Regions from separate parts of the Homo sapiens genome. Here region 2 is linked to region 1. Evidence: promoter capture Hi-C in 16 types of primary human blood cells and fetal thymus (Javierre and others, 2016). All regions are on one chromosome and are shown on one strand. Each heading gives the region's core, a stretch centred on a gene start or on the middle of the fragment in contact. The rest is flanking DNA. Distances are from core to core; before and after follow the strand shown.

The links. Contacts are between HindIII fragments. The CHiCAGO score rates a contact against its expected background, and 5 or more counts as called.
Region 2: a contact is called between a fragment that was not itself captured here and the fragment with the promoter of NALF1 in region 1, in 1 of 17 cell types (endothelial precursors). The highest score is 5.8, in endothelial precursors.

What each region holds. Positions count from the first base shown.
Region 1 is chr13:107,866,246-107,868,945 of GRCh38, forward strand. It overlaps NALF1 (NALCN channel auxiliary factor 1), which reads right to left and starts at 1,251. Exons shown (of 3, transcript NM_001080396.3): 1 at 1-1,251. The coding sequence starts at 351. It overlaps LOC124903206 (heparan sulfate glucosamine 3-O-sulfotransferase 4-like), which reads left to right and starts at 428. Exons shown (of 1, transcript XM_047430833.1): 1 at 428-2,700. The coding sequence starts at 652. The coding sequence ends at 1,215. RefSeq lists an enhancer at 1,719-2,287. The HindIII fragment of the contact is 11,168 bases long and covers 1-2,700 here.
Region 2 is chr13:107,342,893-107,345,592 of GRCh38, forward strand. The region is part of intron 1 of NALF1 (NALCN channel auxiliary factor 1); the gene reads right to left. Among named protein-coding and RNA genes, the nearest start is that of SNORD31B, 23 kb to the left of the region's middle. The HindIII fragment of the contact is 1,050 bases long and covers 803-1,852 here.

The DNA of each region.
Region 1 (2,700 bases), core at 1-2,500:
GGCGGCGGGCGAGGACTCCCCCATGCTCGCCAGGAGCGCGGGCCAGGAGGGCTCCTGCTGCCGCCGCTGCTGCTGCTGCTGCTGCCGCTGCCTCTGCTGCTGCTGCTGCTGCTGCTGCTGCCGCTGCTGCTGCTGGTGCTCCTTGTCCCGGGCCCGGGTCAGCTTGGCCTCGGCGCAGAACCACAAGTGATCAGAGAGCAGGACTGTGAAAAACAAGAGAGATGCCAGAGACAGTCGCCATTTCTGAGCCCTCTCGGAATCGATGAACGGTTTCTCGTTCTCTCGGGGTGCTGCCAACCAGATTTTTAAGCCGTCGTCATACTGCCGACACATCCAAGCACCCCTGGTCATATTTTGGGAACGCACAGCCCTGGCCGACTCCACCGTGAGGGCGCCTGTGCCGGTGTCACCACAATATGCATTGACTTAAAGGGTTTAATTTCCTTATCCCCTCCTCCCGTTTCTTCTCTCTCCTCTCTCTCTTTCTCTCTCTTCCCCTCTCCCTCTCTCCTCTCTCTCTCTCTCCCTCTCCCTCTCTTTTATCTCTCTCTGTCTCTTTTGCCTACATAAATATTACCAGGCTTTGAAGGAAGGTCTGACTTGCTTCCTAATCATCAGCCGACCCCATCCTCTGTAGAGTGGGAAACAATAATGGAGAGAGAGAGAGAGAGAGAGACGGAGGAGGCTGGTGCTGGTGGCCGGCGGCGAGGCTGGGTGCAGGGGGCGATGGTGGAGGTGACAGGGTGGCTGGCGCGGCTCCGGTCACCCAGGCATTGTCAGCGCGCGGGTCCCCATGGCCCCGCGGAGCCCAGCCCGCTCTCCCCTGCCAGGGGCATGCCGCGCCTCCGCTGCCCACTGACGGCGCCCGGAGCGCCTCCCCTCCTCCTCCTCCTCCTCCTCTTCTTCTCCTCCTCTTCCTCCTCCTTCCTTTCCTTCTCCTTCTTCTTCTCCTCCGCCTCCCGCTCCTGCTCCGCGCTGGCTCTCCCAGAGTCCGGAGCCTGGGCTGCCTCCGGCGGGGCGCTCCCTCCCCCCCACCCCCCACCCCGCGCTCTAAGTGCTGCCGCCGCCGCCGCCGCCGCCGCCGCTGCCGCAGGGCCGCCCGCGGGCGCCGCCGCCGGGGCTCCGACTGCTGACGCCGCCTCCCGCGGAGCTCCGGGCCGAATCGCCTGGGCTGGGCCTCCCGAGAGCCACAGTCATCTTCAGTCCGCGGGCTAAGTTGCCGCCATCTTCGTCCTGGAGAAACACTTTTTTGGGGGGAGCGCTGGCTTTTGCGTCATCTCCTCCCGCGCCGAGCTCGCTCCATCCTGGCGCAGTGGCGCCGGCTCGGCCCGGGAGGAGGGAGAAGGCGCGCGGGGGCGGGCGGCGGCGGGGCCGCGGGGCCCGGGGGCCCCCGCCCGGCTCCCCGGGCTCAGGCGCCTGCTCTTTCCTTTCTGTCCCCCTGTCCACGATATTTTGTTTTAATCACTGAAGAGAAAAATAAAAGTCAGACTGCGGACGGCATGGCCGGTGAGGCTCCTCGCGGCCGCGCCGCCCGCACGCTCTGGCTCCGGGAAGCGTCCGAGTTGCAGGCGCCCGGGCAGAGGTCTCTACTGGTGCGAGGGTCTGGGCAGAGTCCTCTCAACTAAGGACCGAGCCACTTCGGATGGAAGGTGGGGGTCCGCGGAGGAAGCTCGAATTGGCTAGAGGAGGGATGAGGTGACATTTGGTCTCTGAATGCGTCTCGGATCCCGGACCGCGAGATCCATCGCTCCCAGTGCGTGCAGTTATTCCGTCCTGCTGTGTGACACGGGAGAATGGCGCGCACGCCTGTGCACCTGCATCGACCGTGTAGCTGCCTGGGTGACAGCCACCCATTTGTCTATGTTTTCTTTCCTATTCTAAAGTAAACGATTAGAAGTGGCCTCATAGAGTCTTAGGAAGAAACAGTAAGCCCTGTGCCACCCGGGGTCACTGCCTAGCCCTGCCCTCCGCGCGCACCGTCCGCGTCTCCGAGGGCTCCTCCTCGGACCTGGACCCTCTGGAGCGGCTTCGACCCTCCCTCTGCCCCCGCTGCCTGCGTCCAGACCCCCTCCCGGGTGGGCTCCTCCGAGGACCTCCGCAGCCGCGGGCGAGCTGGGTGCCTGCGAGTCGCCGCCGCAGTCTGAGCCTCTGGTGCCCCTTAGCGTTGGCTCTCGGAGTTCTGAGAAGGGAAAGGAGACAGACACTCTGGGAAAATCTGGGGTCACCTCGATTCCGGCTCCTACGCTGGATGCCGTGGGCAAGCATCGGTCTCCTTTGATCTGAAGATCCTGCCCACTCCGCCCCTTGCCCCTGCCAGACCCGCGGGAGCAGCAGGTGGCGTGGGTGCCAGACGCTGCCGGTGCGCACCGAGTGCAGCGCTGCCCCGGCTCGCCCCGGGGGTCGCGTGGGACAGCGGTTTGCGGTGTCGCCCTCTCTGCGGTGCTTTCCAAGGACCCTCATGCCCCGCCCGGGTGCACATTCACCACATGGGTCTTACTAGGTGACCTCTTTCTAAGTAAAATGCATTGAGAAACCAAAGGGATGGGGCATCCGTATCCATTTTCCTTTAAGGAGCGCTGTGGGTGTTGGGGATGCGGGAGAAGTAGGTGTTTTTTAAAGAGAAAATTGCAAAACCTCTTGGGCAGGATTCGACCTACTAGCCTCTTCTGCTGCATAATAAGGTACTGTATACACTAAATT
Region 2 (2,700 bases), core at 78-2,577, 520 kb before region 1:
GAAGTGAAGGGAGAATTCAACATTAACACAGTAACAGGAGGAGATCTTAACACCTCACTTTCAACAATGGATAGAACAATCAGACAGATGGTAACTAAGGAAACAGAGACTATAACGACACTACAACCAATTGAACTTAACAGACATGTATAAAACACTCTACCCCATAAAAGCAAAATACACATTTTTCTTAAGTTCACAGAGAATGTCTCCCAGGATAGATCACACATTAGGCTACAAAACAAATCTTAACAAATTTAAGAAGATTGAAATCATACCAATTATCTTTTCTGCTCACAATGAAATGAAACAAGAAATCAATAGCAGTGGAAAAATGGAAATTTCCAACAGTGTTAAAATTAAACAGCACACACTTGCACAACTGAGTTAATAAAGAAATTGAAAGGGAAATTGATATGGTTTGACTTTGTCCCCACCCAAATCTCATCTTGAATTTTCACATGTTGTGGGAGGGACCCAGTGGGAGGTGATTGAATCATGGGGGGCAGGTCTTTCCCATGCTGCTCTCATGATAGTAAATAAGTCTCACAAGATCTGATGGTTTTAAAAAGAGGAGTTCCCCTGCACAAATTCTCTCTCTTTTCCTGCTGCCATCTATGTAAGACGTGACTTGCTCCTCCTTGCCTTCTGCCATGATTGTGAGGCTTTTCCAGCCAAGGGGAACTATAAGTCCATTAAACCTCTATCTTTTGTAAATTGCCCAGTCTCGGGTATGTCTTTTTCAGCAGCATGAAAATGGACTAATAAAGAAATTAAAAGATATCTTGAGACAACCTAACAAAGCTTATGGGATGCAGCCAAAAGCAGCACCAAGAGCAAAGTTTATAGTGATAAAAACCTGCAATCAAAAGAACGATCTCAAATGAATAAGATTTATACCTAAAGGAATTAGAAAAAGAACGAAGTAAACAGGTAGCTAACAGAGGAAAGGAATAAAAATTAGACCAGAAATCAACAAAGTAGAGAACAGAAAAACAAGAAGAAAAAAAATTAAACACAGAGTTTTTTTTTGAAAAGATTAACAAAATTGACAAACCGTTATCTAGACTAAGAAAACAAGGGAAGACTCAAGTAACTAAAATCAGAAATGAAAGATGAGACATCACAATTGGTGCCAAAAAAGGAGATAATAAGCGACTACAGAACAACTATCTGCCAGCAAATGGAATAGCCTAAAAAAATGGATATGTTTCCAGAAATATAAAGTCTACCAAGACTGAACTATGAAGAATTAGAAAATCGCAACAGATTTATAACTATTAAGAAAATTGAATCAGTAATCAGAAACCTCCCAATAAATAAAAGCCCAGGACCAGATGGCTTCACTGAAGAATTCTATGAAACATTTAAAGAATAATTGCCAATCCTTCTCAAACTCTTCCAAAAAACTGAAGAGGAGGGAACACTTCCAAATCCATTTTATGAGTCCATCATTACTCTGATACAAAAGCCAGACAACGATACTAACAGAAAAGAAAATTACAGGACAATATCACTGATGCATATTGATGCAAAAATCCTTAACAAAACACTAGCAAATCAATTTCAAAAGTACATTAAAAAGATTAGACACTGTGACTAAGTTGGATTTATTTCTTATGTACGTGATGGCTCACACACAAAAATCAATCAATGTAATACACCACATCAACCAAAGAACACAAATCACATGCTCCTCTCTATGATGCAGAAAAAGCATTTGACAAAATCCAACATGCTTTCATGATAAAAACACTCAACTAACTAAGCGTAGAAGAAAATTACTGTAACATAATAAAGGTCATATATGAAAAGGACACAGGTATCATTATATTCAATGGTTAAAAACCAAAGCTTTTCCTTTAATATCAGGAGCAAGACAAGAATGCCCACTCTTACCACTTTTATTCAAAATGGCATTGGAAGGCCTACCAAGATAAAATAGTAGAAAAATATATAAATAAAATCATCCAAGTTGGAAAGGAAGAAGTAAAATTATCTCTTTTCACAGATGAGATAAACTTACACATAAAAATCCCTAAAGATTCTACCAAAAAAATTGTTAGAACTAATAAAAACAAATTCGGTAAAGTTGAAGAATACCAAATGAACTCTCAGAAATCAGTTGTGTTTCTATGTGCTAACAACAAACAACCTAAAAATGAAGAACAATCTCAGTTATAATAGCAGCTACACACACACACACACATACACACACACAAGACTTGTACACTGACAACTTCAAAAACATTGCTGAAAGAAGTTAAAGACATCAGTAAATGAAAAACCATCCTTTGTTCTTGCATTGGAAGACTTATATATTAAAATGTTTATACGACTCAAAGCAATCTATAGATTCAATGCAATTTCTATCAAAATCTCAATTGCATTTTTTACAGAAACAGAAAAAAATTCTAAAATTCATATGGAATCTGGAAGGACCCTGAATGGCCAAAACAATCTTGACAAAGAAGAGAAAAGCTGGAGGCCTCACACTTTCTGATTTTGAAACACATTGCAAATTAAGAGTAATTAAAAGGGTATGGTATTGGCATAAAGACAAAGACATAGACCAAAAGAACACAATCGAGAGCCCAGGAATAAACTCTTGTATATATGGCCAAGTGATCTTTGACAAGCATGCAAAGTCTACACAATATGGAAAGAAGAGTCTCTTCAAAAAATTGTACTGGGAAAACT